2 separate regions of the Homo sapiens genome follow, and region 2 is linked to region 1. The links are contacts of gene promoters, found by promoter capture Hi-C in blood cells and fetal thymus (Javierre and others, 2016). All regions are on one chromosome and are shown on one strand. Each heading gives the region's core, a stretch centred on a gene start or on the middle of the fragment in contact. The rest is flanking DNA. Distances are from core to core; before and after follow the strand shown.

The links. The method cuts DNA at HindIII sites, captures the fragments that hold promoters and counts their contacts. A CHiCAGO score of 5 or more calls a contact.
Region 2: a contact is called between the fragment with the promoter of FBXO4 here and the fragment with the promoter of RICTOR in region 1, in 1 of 17 cell types (total B cells). The highest score is 5.5, in total B cells.

What each region holds. Positions count from the first base shown.
Region 1 is chr5:39,068,412-39,075,861 of GRCh38, reverse strand. RICTOR (RPTOR independent companion of MTOR complex 2) reads left to right here and starts at 1,463. Exons shown (of 38, transcript NM_152756.5): 1 at 1,463-1,533; 2 at 1,704-1,751. The coding sequence starts at 1,485. RefSeq lists enhancers at 1,051-1,577, 2,104-2,630 and a silencer at 1,266-2,165. The HindIII fragment of the contact is 5,742 bases long and covers 1-3,159 here.
Region 2 is chr5:41,920,254-41,927,304 of GRCh38, reverse strand. It overlaps FBXO4 (F-box protein 4), which reads right to left and starts at 2,024. Exons shown (of 7, transcript NM_012176.3): 1 at 1,807-2,024; 2 at 57-292. The coding sequence starts at 1,995. It overlaps RIMOC1 (RAB7A interacting MON1-CCZ1 complex subunit 1), which reads right to left. Exons shown (of 6, transcript NM_175921.6): 6 at 5,669-7,051. It also overlaps the pseudogene LOC100419715. RefSeq lists a silencer at 1,587-1,766. The HindIII fragment of the contact is 6,278 bases long and covers 1-3,489 here.

The DNA.
Region 1 (7,450 bases), core at 214-2,713:
AAAATATTTTATAATGTATATTTTTAATTTCGTACATATTTAAACTTTTATTATAAAACAGGAAATTTGTAATATTTTGCTTGATTTAATATCATGAACATTATTTCCTATTACTAAGTCTACCTCTTCACTTTTAATCGTTGACATAATTTACATAATCCCTACCTTTGGTCATTTAAGTGTTTCCAAATGTTCACTCTTATTAACAACTTCAACAAATATCCCCAATATTGCTTTTTTTTTCTTTTTTAAAGTAAGCAGAGAATTGGAATAAATTAGAAATCCAGGGCACTTACTCATCCAACAGATATTTATTGAATACTTATTTGTGCCAGATATTGCATTAACTGGGAGCTGGGAAAACAGAACTGGTTAAGGCTAGATCTCCACTTTTAATTAACTTTCAGTCTCATGGAATAGAAAGATGAGCTGAGGAACTGGAGAGGACAAATCGCTCCTCTCTTTAAAGTAAATGTAGTTCAAGAGAAAGCTGCTGGGTCAGTGGCCAGGTGTGTGTGTGTGTGTGTGTGTGTGTGTGTGTGTGTGTGTGTGTGTGTGTGTGTGTGTGTGTGTGTGTACACATACGTATTAACTAAGCAGTTTCTAGAATTAAAATCCCTAATGTTAATAGGCTTATGCATAAAATAGATTAATCCACAACACCTGCATGAGCCACGATCCTAGGAGCTGCAGAGCCATAAAAGCCGGACACAGTACCCAGCAGCCTCGCCTCGGCTCCCGGCAGAGAACACCCTCTCCCCGGCCTCCCGGCGCTGGCGCGATCCCACCGCGGGGACCGCCGCCCTGGTCCCCGGCCGCTGCACCCCCTTCTCGCGTCCTACGCCTGGCGGCCAAAAACAAAACTGCCTAACCACTTCCACTTGGAGAAGCCCTCCTAGCCGAGAGGGGCATTCTGAAGATCAAGGGCGAGGCTGGAAAACAAACTTTGTTACGTGTTAACTTAGTTGGAGCAAAGCGATTCCAGGAAAGGAGTCTAAAACTGTGCGCAGCGTTTTTATAAAAAAATGTTTCAGTGGATACACGGGGGAGCGGGGCCGTCTATGGCAGGGCTTCAGAGCAAGCAGGAGACTGGCAGGCCGGCGAGAGCAGGTGGCCCGCCGGCCGCATCCCGGCCTCCTCCTCCCCGCTCGCCTGCATTTGGACGACGGCTTCCGCGGCGGCCGGAGGGGAGCATCCTCTACACTGCCAACTCGCATCAATGGGACTTTCCTCGTGGGAACTGCCCCTCCCGGCGGACGTGCCCTCCGGGTCCGGCGTGGGCGGGCGGGTGCCGCGAACTCCTTGCAGACCTTGGGTCGGCTCAGTGCTCCCTCAGCGCTGGGGCCGAGCCTGCACCACCCGCCGCCGTCGCCGCCGAGGGGGCGGGGGAGGTGCCGCGGGGGGCGGGCGCGGCGCGCGGGGAGGGGAAGGGGTTCTCGCGCGATTGGGCGAGGTTTCCGGTGTTGTGACTGAAACCCGTCAATATGGCGGCGATCGGCCGCGGCCGCTCTCTGAAGAACCTCCGAGTACGAGGTAAGCCCGCTGCAACCCTCACTCCCCACCGCCCGGCGCCCGCCACCCCTGGCACTTGCCTTCCCCTGGCCCTGGGTTGGGGAGCGAGCCGGGGCGCTGGCCGGAGCCAGGGCAGCCGCAGCTGGCCTGCGAGCCAATCCTAATTGGGGCTGTGTGTCTGTTTCGCGCAGGGCGGAATGACAGCGGCGAGGAGAACGTCCCGCTGGATCTGACCCGAGGTAACGCGGGGCGCCGCGGGCGCCGCGAGGGCGCGCTGCTGGGGAGGAGCCGGGTCCGGGGCTGGGGGCCAGAGGCAGGGGCGGGCCCCGCACGGGACCGGCGGGGTGCGGGGGCCAGAGCCGGAGCCCCGCCTGCCGGCCCGCGGGAACCGAGCCCGGGGCCGCCTCGCCGGACCCATCCCCCTACCCAGCGCCCGCTTCCCTCGCCCGAGCCCTTCTCCGGGCCTCGGGCTGCTGCGGGTGCGGGGGAGCCCCGAGTGGAACTCGGCAGACCCGGCGACCCTCTGGGCTCGAGCTCCGGCAGAGTGGTTTGCACCTATCCCGGAGTCCGGCAGCCCAAGCTAGGGGCAGCTGGAGGGAGGTAGAGGCTGTTATTTAGGTTGCAGGAGGATGTTTGAGGGAAGAGCGACCACATCCTGCCCTCCCCGTCCCCGGAGCAGAAGCCGGACCTGCTCGGTGCTTGCCGACTGCGTGACTGCTTTCCCCTTTGCCCACCGTCCTGTGGGGACCCGCAGCATTGATAACTTGGTAGTGAAACCTAGAACTGGTCATTACTGCTAAATGTCTGGTTTATGCTGTTTCCCTTCTGCTTCCCTTTCCCGGGCCGCTGGGACTGTAGTTGGCTAAAGACCGCCCCCTCACCCTGCTGCAGGTTCATTGTTTACCTTCTGCAGTGGAGATGGGTTTGTTTACACCTTCCGAACTGGGGAAACTCGGGTGATATTTTTAATGACCTAATCCCGTTACTAGCCAGTGTTTCCTCTATCACTTACAGTACTAGAGTTTATTCGACATTATCTCGTTGAAGATTTAGTAGTTACGTACAAGATTCTTTTCTCTTCCACGGTAAACAGGATTGAGCCTACTGATTCCGACGAAGTCATATTTCACACGGGCTGTAGCTTGGAGTGTAACCCGGTTCAGCTGTACAGAATCAGTTTCTGAGGTCTATAAAACACCTTAGGAAGTAAACAAAAAAACTTGTTGTAGACATTCTGTATGAGATCAGTTTTTTACCCTATGTCGTACCTGACGTAATGACTGTTATCTACAGTAATTTGTTAAAGCTGGGCTCCTTGTTGACAACGGCTAGAGTGAAAGCATAGTGCATTTTCTAATTTGTTTTATTTTGCTTATCACGATGTAAGATTACTGTTTTATAAACTGAATGGTCAGCTTTCACTTAGCTACAAGAGTACATTTTTATAACTTAATATTTTATTCTGAAAGTTCAGGGACTTAGTTTTGGGTGAACTAGGTCCTTTTACAAGACAGTTTCTAAAATATAATACAATATAGTAGAGCTTAAATCCTGAAAATGGCTACTAATTAGATTATCAATGCACTAATTTCCACCATTTTTTTCAGCAGATCGGTTTTGAGAATTAGTATAGAAAGATGTAAAGCTTTTGACTTCTGTGCAACTGTTTGGAAACTTGACTATAACACACATGTGAAAAATCTATATAAAATAGATTCACTAGAAAACTTCCTAACAAGGATAACTTCTACAATTTCAGGTCTGTAAAAGATGTAATTAGTGAGTGATTTAATTTATATACAGGCATATGTGTTTTAGATGAAGGTGAAGGGAGCCCTTAATAAACTTGAGTTTAACTTGTGCATTAAAAACCTGCTCAGATGTGGTGCTGGAAATATATAGTTGTATTTTAAATTGAGTTCGTCGAGCTCCTATATATAGTGGTTTCTCTGCTTGGTGTCAAAAATGTTGAGTTGTGGAAGAGCTTAGGTACACATCTGATTTGATAATTTTGGCTTACTCCAGTTTTACTGAGGCACACAGGTAACTGTTTACTATTTAAAATGCCATATTAACTGAGAATTTAGTAAGCACCTATGTCCATAGGTATTTCCAGGTTAATATAGATAGTGCAGAAAATGCTGTTTTCGGCTTGCCCTGACAAAATGTACTTCAGTTTGGAATAAAGTATACACAGCCATTTAAAACTGATTGCAAAAATAAAGAGTGAGGGATTGTTTGAGATCTGTATTTCTAAATCATAAGGAAGTTTGGAATTAATCTGAATCAGTCATTTTATAGTGATACTATTGTTTTAAAAAGTTGCTGTTGTGACAGACATTTCATTGTTCAAAGAAGGCTTGAAGAAAATTCATGAGGAATTAAAGTTTAGTAATAATTTGAGAACTGTGAGGCAGTTTGGGTTGCAGCTGAAGGGCAGCTGTTTGTGGATTAGATTACAGTATGTAAAAAGATAAAGTTTGGGCAACCAAAAATTTTTTTGTTTAATGCCAAGGCAGTGTTTGCTTTTATTCTTATTTTTTAAATTTAATCTTTGAGAGATTCATTGTGTAGTTACCTAATAAAGCTCATTATAAAATAGAGGACATGGTCATTGTAATCCCTAAAGGATCCATCAATGTGTAGTGAAAAGAGAGTTGACTATAAAGTCAAATCATTCTGGATTGTAACCTCAGCTGTGAGATTTAATAGTTGGGTGATTTGGGGCAAGTTATTTGACCTTGCTTTACCCCTGATTTCTTCATTTCTAAAATAAGAGATAACTTCAAAGGGTTAAGAATGTGAAAAGTAAATGAGCTAGTTCTTAATTAAAGTACTTGGCATAAGACCGGATACTTTGTAAGTGATATTTAACATTAGTTGCCTTCCTACATTGTGAAATCACAGTTTTAAAACTCACATTAAAAATACTTTAAACGGTTGTTTTGAATATTATAAACTTGTTAATAAGGAATTATGGTATTCGAGCTTCTTTTTTTTTTGAAACATACTGTTATACTAATTGGGTATAGTCTATCTGAGTTAGAGTTCTTGAATATAACAATTGTAAAGCAATCTGTGACATTACCAATAAATTAAGTCTAAGCGAAGTGCAGTATGTTATATTCACTTAGGATAAAATGTGATACTGTATTTCATAGAACCTTAGAATTTTTGTCTCTGACACCAGGACATTTCATACTATTTAATAATGACTTGGCTAGCCTTGCAAGCTTCTTGAGGCTCAGAAGAATTCTAAGTTTCGTTGGTTTTGGTACTTGTGTTAGTGCTGTGGTTCATACATAGAGTGCCTCAGTTAAAAATTGTTGATGGATTAATTTTTATCTAGTTTAGGAACTTCATTATAGTAGACTTTACAGTCAGCGTATTGGTAATGGTTGCTCTGAGTTTTGTTCAGACAACTACTTAATTTGTGAAAGTCCCCAATATTTGCTAATGATATTATTAAATACTGTCTGTAATGCATGCCAAAATGTATTTTGAAGCCCAAATGCTTCCTCTCGCCATTTGTACTGCAAGGATAGACTGTCTTATCAGTCCAGTAGTGCATCTCTTTACTGGTACTGAATCACTTGAAAAGATACAGTGTTCTTCCTGGGTAAACCCCTCCTGGTATACTTTAATTATTGTGTTCAAAGTGAATTCCCAGAATATGGACACACTAGTTCAAATATAATTATTAGAATATAATTTATTTAAAAGTATAGTTGAATTTTATAATTTTTGATTAACTCCTTTACGTTTCCACTAAGAACTAAAAAACTGACTCTCTTGGTTGCTGTCTAATACCTAGAAAAGCAGAAAGGTTCCAAAATGATGTAGATTTGAACTCTAACTTTTTTTTTTTTTATTTGAGACGGAGTCTCGCTCTGTCGCCCAGGCCGGACTGCGGACTGCAGTGGCGCAATCTCGGCTCACTGCAAGCTCCGCTTCCCGGGTTCACGCCATTCTCCTGCCTCAGCCTCCCGAGTAGCTGGGACTACAGGCGCCCGCCACCGCGCCCGGCTAATTTTTTGTATTTTTTTTTAGTAGAGACGGGGTTTCACCTTGTTAGCCAGGATGGTCTCGATCTCCTGACCTCATGATCCACCCGCCTCGGCCTCCCAAAGTGCTGGGATTACAGGCGTGAGCCACCGCACCCGGCCCTGAACTCTAACTTTTTATTTTCCAGTTTCTTCTGGTTAGGAGTTTTCTCATTTGTTTAATCATTCAGTTAGACAAAATGGACATTGACTGAACATTTATATACCAGATGCTGAATTAACTGCTGGAAGAATAAAAATGAGGAAACTCTTTCCCCCTTTTAAGGGTTTCATTGGAATAGACATAAGGAAATGATTGCAGGTGGAAAAATAAATTAAGTAATCAAACTATATAGGAAACAGAGGTAACCCAATAGTAGCCAGAGGAGAGAATGATTAACTGTCTGGTGGGTAAAAGGATCAGAGAAGTCTCATAGAGGGGTTGACTTCTTAAAAGAATAATGGTGGACATAGTGGAAGGAAATATGTGCTCTCTTGGGAATATACCATACCCTGGGAAGGGGAAAGTTAGGAAGCAGAGGAGCTGCCTAGGGTGCTGCTGATATAATCTGACGGATGATAGAAGACTGGACCATGGCGTTGGCTACAGAAATGAAGTCAAATACATATTAAAATGGAAGAATTATCTAATTTGCTTTCTTCAGATTTCAGACTGATTTTGTAGTCCCCCCACTCTATGCAGTGAATTTTATTTCTTTATTAAAATGTAGAGGCTGCCCATCCAGTGTGAATTCCTCAATTGTCTGCCCAGACTTACTGTCTTTACCCTGATTCAAAGAATAAAGCGTTGCTATTCTTTTCCAAGGGTAACTTGGAAAAACGTTTATGCTTCTAATACTGTTTCCTCAAGATTCTTTGTAGAACTAAGATCTTCTCTTCATTTCTCCCTTACAGTTGGCTCAGTTTTCTCATGTTCAGCAAGCAATTTTTATGTTCTTCACATGGACCAGGTACTATGTTAGGCATGGGCTGAAAGTGGGAGATATGGAATGATAACGACAATATTACAAAAACTTTTTTTTGAAGGCTCTACAGACAGAATAGTTTGTCTTCACTCCACAACTTTATTGCTTAACAAAGTCTTGTAAGCAAAACTCTCCCTCTGTACTGAAAATAATTTCTTAAAAGATGCTAGTAACCTCTTGCAAAATTTATGGGCATTTTTAAGTTCCACATTCTACTATTATACATACTATTACTATAATACTAGTTTTGTGCCAGGCACTGATTTCATTATTTTACTTAATATTCAGCTGTTTTAGCTACACTTATTGTCTCTGTTTTACAGTTGAGAATATAGGCTTTGAAATTTTAAAGGGCTAAAACTCAAACAGGTAACTTAACCAGTGTCACAGGGCTTAGTGAGTGACTGGTATGTGTCTGATAATCATCTCAGAGTTGTGATGTGTAAAACTTTGCACCCCAAAGTGTACCCACTTTTCACATTCTAGGTATTTCCGCCATCCTCTGTTATTCAAGCTAGAGATCTGCTGCTTATCCTCTTTGTTGTATTGCTAAACTCCTCTGATTAGCTTCTGAAATAGCTGTTGAATTCAGTCTCTCCTTCTGTTCCCATTGTCAGTTCATATCCTCATTATGTCATCGTGTGGCAGTAATATCTTCTCACCTTTTTTCACTCGGTCTACTGTATGCCTGCCAGGATTATTTCCCAGAAATCTAGATCTGATCTTGTTGTTCTCTTAAATAAAAAAACAAAACAAAACACATACACACATTTTCTAGGCTAATTTTTGCTCACAGAATACAGTCCACATTTCTTTAGTTTGGCATTCAAGGCCTTTTTTGATTTACTCCCATATGGTTTTCTTCTGTACTATTTTAACCATACACATCTCAATATATCTGCCTCTCTG
Region 2 (7,051 bases), core at 775-3,274, 2.9 Mb before region 1:
TAGTAATACAGGAAAATTTAATAGCTTCTTTTTAATTCATAAAACTAGATACTTACACTGCCATGTAGTCAAAAAATGCACCATCAGTGACCTCAGATATAGGCTTTTTTAAGATTTCTAGATCTGGAAGAGACTTCCAGTCAACAGAAGACCAAGAAGGAAGATCCCTCAACAAAAAGTATCTCCACAGAATTGGATCTCTTACAGTTTCATTCCAATAATGATTTGTACTTCCCAACTGACACAGATCATGAGGTGAAAGAAAGGACAAAATATATAGCTGTACATCAATCTGAAACAGAAGAAAGCAGCAGGTAGGAAAAAGGAATGAAGAAAATAGTTTTTGGGTGATAAACCACATAATCAACAAATAAATAACAAAAGGTCAACTGACTAGTATTTTTAATAACTAAATCTACCATTAATAATTAAATCTATTATTTTCCTGCTATCAGCAAAGGATCATAACTGAACATTTTAGTTTCGTAGTTGTTAAACATTTAATTTCTGAAACACCTGAAACATTCCTGAAAAAGCAACCACTGTCTTGCTATTTTTCCAGCAAAATCACCAGTTCCTTTAATTTTTCCTCAGAGATATTTGGATATACCAGTTAGTTACATAAATTAGTTAAGGAAATAATTTGTCCTTCAAAATAAAACCCATATCAACCTTTATCTGATTTTATCATCAGACCAAATCAAAGAGTGTACATTTGTCTTTTTCTTTTTTGAGACACAGTCTCGCTCTGTCGCCCAGGCTGGAGTGCAGTGGCAAGATCTCGGCTCACTGCAAGCTCCGTCTCCCAGGTTCACGCCATGCTCCTGCCTCAGCCTCCCAAGTAGCTGGGACTACAGGCGCCTGCCACCAAGCCCGGCTAATTTTTTATATTTTTAGTAGAGACGGGGTTTCACCGTGTTAGCCAGGATGGTCTTGATCTCCTGACCTCGTGATCCGCCCACCTGGGTCTCCCAAAGTGCTGGGATTACAGGCGTGAGCCACCGCGCCCGGCCGTAAATTTGTCATCTTAGTTCCTCTACAGAATCTATTAAAATGTTATGAAAAACCTCTGCAAGGAGAAACTTGGAGGCATTCTAAACCTGCAGCTTTCACGTTGATATACACATTGGAGAGAGGTGTCAATAGTCCAAATGAGACAAAGAATTGTAATAATTTTCAATAATTTTTGTTCTCTTCATTTACCTATCTACCCCAAAGTTTAACAATAAGTTATGTGTGTCATTCTCGTGGCCTTGATGTAACTTGAGGCACTTGTAACTTAAGTCATTTATTTTCAACTGAGGGGCCGTTTTGTTTCTTCAAATACACAATAACAGCCACAGGCACAATGTCCTCTTGAGAGGGTAAAAACCTTGGCCCTCCAAGTGTTTTGGTACAGTGATCCGGAATCAAAGACGCTGGGAACAGGGACGCTGGAATGCTTTCCCAAGCTAATCAGCAAGTTGGGAACTGTCTCATTTCCGTAACCGGACATTCAGGGTGTCCTAGTCACATGTGCCTGTTTTGGCGGGTGGAAAACCTGAGGGCGATCGGGAGGGTCCCCAGGGGCCCCATGAAGGTGCTTCCCTGAGATGTTCGGGCCCCCTGCGGAGCACCAGGGTCCACGCCAAGACGCTTCTGATCAACTGTAGCTTCTCGGTGACTACACTGCCAGGAATGGCTGCATGGACGGAGCCAGACCCAGGCCGGGGCGCGAGAGTTCCCCAGGCCCCGGGGGGCTCCAGGGGAGGTCCCTCCGGCCCGGGCCGGCCCCACTGTCCTCCGCGGCCTGCGGCCGACGCTCACCGGCAGCCGCGTCAGGGTGCTGGCCGCCTCATCCACCTCCTCCCGTGAGGTCGTACGCGCCACCCTCTCCTTGCTCACTGACTGCCAGAAGGTCTTCCAGCCGCTGAGGATGGCCGCCTCCAGGCGGCCCCAGTCGCTGAAGGGCGGCGGCGGCGAGTTTGTTCCGCTGCGCGGCTCGCTTCCCGCCATGGCTTGCCCGCAGCGTGGGTGACGCGTCTTAGAGCCACGCTAGCGCGTCAGCCTCCTGCGCAGCTCCGCGCCAGCCGAGGGCGCCCTCGGGCGTTCCGCCTCCCGCTTCTCCCGCGAGTCCGCCTCCAGGGCAGGGTTAGGCCCAGGGGCAAGGGCGGGTACTGGGAGGAAGCCCACTGTGCGTGGCTGTGAGCCGAGTACGAAGCTCCTGTCAACAATTAACTTCCCCAGTAACTTGTGGCCTCAACCTCAGCCACGCCAACCGCAGAGCCCCTGTACAACCTCTGGCCCGCTGACTTCCTGGCTTCATTCAAGATGTTCTCTCCGGGATCATTTCCACTATGCCTGGTCCTAGGCGACTCCGCTTGTTCGATAGACCTCTGCCACTGTCTTGGGCTTAATAACCACTTGCTTCCTTTTCAGCACTACCATACTACGTATGGGGTGTTTTTTGTGTGTGTTATTTCCTCAATCACCAAGTTACCATTTATTTTCTTGAGTATCAGCAAAAACAGACTAGAGAGGCAGTCAGCGGGCCAATTACAAAGAACCTTTTGCCAAAATGAGAAGTCTGGACCCACTATGCAAAAATATAAGCACATTTAAAATTTGCAAGGGCGGCAAAAAACGGCTAGAAGAACCCAGATGTGGTGGTGTTGAAATCCCACTAGTGAGTTTTTTAATTCTCAAACCAGATGCCCATTCTACTTACTTTGGGCTTACTTTAAAAGTGCTTTAAGAGAACGTATTACAAGTTAATCTGTTACATAGAACTGGGTATGTATACATTCAAAAAGTAAATCTCTGAGGATCTAAATGTCAACAGAATCCAAGAAAGCCTGATAACTAAGGTTCTGCAAGGCTCTGTAACATACAAGTTTAAGTTTCATTACATTTTATTATTTGCATGTTGTTGGTAGGGGCCAATAACCAATAAAATTGCAGCCTCGTTTTTGGGAGGCAATCTGGACAAGGACCACGGATTAACCATATGGCATTTCTCATCACTTTCTAGGACACGATTTACTTTGAGAGCAAAAAACGAACTAGAGCAAGAAAAAAAATCAGTTCAAGTATAAAGTATTAAAATGATATCTGTTAAATGAATGAGAAAAACTTTATTACGGAAAATTTTGAACATTTATAAAAGGAGAGTGAATAATATGCTCCTGTGTGCCCAGTATCCAAGATTCCATTACCAACACCTGGTTAATCTTGTGCTGTTGCTATACTCACCTAATACTACACCCCCAATTCTGGATCCTTTTGAAACAAATCCCAGACCTATCATCTGTAAATATCTCAGTATCCGTCCCTAAAAAAAACAGATTTTAAGAAACAGACCACTGTACCTAAGCAATTTTAATTCATTAAAATCACCAAATACCGAGTCAGTGTTTAACTTCCCCATCTGCTTTGAAAATAATTTTTCACATTTGATTTGTTTGAATCATAGCCCAACAAGGGTCACACATTACGGATACTCTTAAAGCTTAAGTTTCATTGTATAGCTCCCCCTCCTTTATTTTCCCTTGATATTTGTTAAAGAAAGCAGGTTGGTCTTTCTGGACCACTCTGGACTTTCTTTTTTCTATATTCTTCTTCTTCTTTTTTTTTTTTTTTTGTTAGTAGAGATGGAGTTTCACCATGTTTTCCAGGCTGGTCTCGACCTCCCAGGCTCAAGTGATCCTCCTGCTGTGGCCTTCCAAAGTGCTAGGATTACAAGTGTGACCCACTGAACACGGCCTGCACACTATTAATGGCATCTCAATAGTGTCTTTAACACATTCGTAAATGGTATTATATACTGAGACTGAAAGCTACAAGTCATTCTCATTTTCTAATGTTCGGAGTGATCAGTGGTTTCACTGGGCTGATCCATTCAAATTTCCTGTAAGTTTTTCACCTCAAAGATAGAGCATTTATCAATGAATATTATTTGCTTACAAGTTATAAAATGTTAGTATTCTAGTTCTATAATTCCTTTTATTAGCTGAATTAAAGAAAAATTTTCCGTCAGTCATTTGATTGTCCTGCTCAAGCCAGAATTAGCTATATTTCCAGAAAACTCTGGCTCATTTTGACGGGAATGGTATTTGAACATGGTTTCCAGGCCTTTCTAGTGTCTTTTATATAGAGAAAACATAACTTCGTGTTATTTCCCATTCAAATTTAGGATTACAGATTGTTTTTACTCTTTGATTTTGTATGTATCTTTTCTCATACACTAAAAATCCTCATTTCTAATTATATTAACATAGTTATGATTAACAATTTAATTACTGAAGAGTTTAAGATTTCTTCACATTTCTTTTTGCCCTTGGATATATCCCATTAAGAATGGACATACAAATTACTATGCTTTAAAGATAACTGAAACATACCTGTGTATTCAAGCCATCAACTTGATATGCAATGCAGGTCGTCTGTTTCATTTTGCTTTGGACTTGTAGGGCTTTTCTTAACTTTGCTTAAATCTCGTTTTAGAATAACATATGTACCAAAGTCAAATGTTGAAAATTCAAGATATATTCTGAGAAATCTAGCTTCCATCCTGGTCCTTTCCATCTGGTTCCTCTCCTCCTGCCTCCACCATAAGTAACCATTTTTTAAAGTTTTGGTTATGGGTCCATTGTTTCTTTTTTTTAACTACACACACACACGCACTTTTATATTCCCTTTCTTAAATATGATACATACACACACACACACACACACATATATATATATACCTTCTCCATTTTGTTTTTACTTAATAAGACCACTCTGTAGCGTTAAACAGAAATATACCTCATGGATTTTTACAGGTACATACTACTCAATCATGTGGCTATACAAGGATTTAGAATAACCTATTTTTAAGTATAGTATTTAAATTTAAATAACCAGTATTTCATTGAATGCTTCTGACTTGTGAGTTAAGAATTAGACCAAAAGGTATCAGAAGCCAAGGCAATCAGGCTGATTAAAAAATCCAGTTTTAAATAGGATATGTATAACATATTTAGATGACTAGTACATCTCAATACAGTGGGTTTTATATATATTTTGAGGGAGGGCTGAAAATGTTTTGAAAATTAATTGGATGTTTTCTTCCAGTCATATCCACAAAAAACATTTGAGATGCCTATCCAAGTCCTGATTTCTTCTCTGAAGTCTGCTTCCCACCTAGAAAGACCGGCATGACTTGAACTAAGGAAAAGGCAGTGCTTTCCTGGCCAACAAGTTTGTCATTCAATTGTCTGGCTAATGAGTCAGCATGCTAAATGAGGTATGCCTATATACAGAACTAGACATTAAGGGAAACAGTCTAGAAATAGCTAATTCTCTTGTGCTCTTATATACTACACACTGAACTAAAGCACTCTGAATATTAACTTATTTATCTTCAATATCCTTGAGGTAGGTACTATTACTGCCTTAAAAATAAGATAAGGCAGCACAGGAAGATTAAATAACTTAAAGAGAGTCACACAGTTAGTATTATAAATGGCAGGGCTATGATTAAACTCAGGCCTTCTGGCTCCAGAGCTCAGAATCCTAACCACTATATTACCCCATCTTTAAAAGTTATTAGGACCAGAAGAAATAACATTCAGAAGTTAAAATAGTAAACTGAGATGATAAAAGTTTTAATTCTGATGCAACAGCCAAATATAAAACAAGCAACAAGTAGGGGTGTATGGTTTTATTTTTTTAAAAATGTATATGCTCAATAACAGTTTACTTGGAAATTTTCACTAGAAGAAATAACATGAAAGAACACCAGCATAAATACATAATACATACTTTAATTGTGGCTATATTAAATGTATCTTAATGTAATACCGCTGTAACATGGTATCATCTCATTGTTAAAAATTAAAAAAAAAAAAAGAACATAGGGAAGTGAAACTAAAAAACTATAGAATCCTGGATTCTGTGGCAGATGGAGTACCCTTATTTAAGCTAGAAAAGGAGCCCTGTAAGGTAGAAAGAGAAAAGAGGCAAGCAATCTGAAACCATCATGTTAACCAACTGTGAGTTTTTAAAAATGTGGTTAAAATGAATCTAAGAATGCCTTTTAACACAGCTCACACTTTAATGAACACCAGAGAATTCACAGCAAGACTGTAAAGCTAGGAATGTAAAGTTATTGTGGGGTTTTAGCCACGACCCTCACCTCACTCTACTATATGCAAAAGAAGAAAGAAAAGTCTTTAGTCATGATTTGCACCTTAATCAGCATCAATTATTCTCAGCAGCCCAAAACCCTATAAATGCAGCAGAGCACACAGGTCTTTAACTAAGTCTAAAAGCCTAGTTAACATCAAAAAAATTCATATTGGGAAAGAGCCATACACATTTAACGACTGTGAAAAGTCCTTTAACAGAGTTTTGGTAACCATGAGAGAATTCAAACCGAAGAGAAACCCCAAGTGTAAAAAATGCAACAAGGCCTTTAGGTATCACTCAACCATTAGCAAAATCCATAGGGGAGAGAAACCTTTTATGTGTAGCTGAAATGATAAAGTCTTAAGTAGTGACCCATTCCTTAATTCAATATCAGAACTTCTGTAAGAAAGAAACTTTATCAATGTGCGGAATACGCAAGGTATATAACCAAAGGAGAGAAATTTGAAGACACAAATGCTAAAGCAGTAGACAGTTCCCAACCACCCCTAAATATGATGGCATCCCACCCCTCTCCCTATCACACTAGCCCCTTACCCTCATTTATTCTTCTTCATGGTACTCATCACTTGACACTCTCTATACATTTATTACTTAAAATGCTTGTCTAACTTCCTCCACTAGAATATAAGCTCTGAAACAGGAGGGGGTTTTAAAAAGCTATATCCTCAGGGTCTAGGATAAAATCTGGCATATGGTAGGCATACAATAGTTGAGTGAATTTAGTGTAGTACTTTCCTTATGTGGGGTATTTGGTACCTTGAGGTTACTTCATTCTAAGTGAATGATTTAGCAGGCTTTAACATATATAAAAATGTGTTCATTATTCTATAATACACCAGAGTAAAAAGCATTTTAACTGCCATGGTCTACAAATTATTCT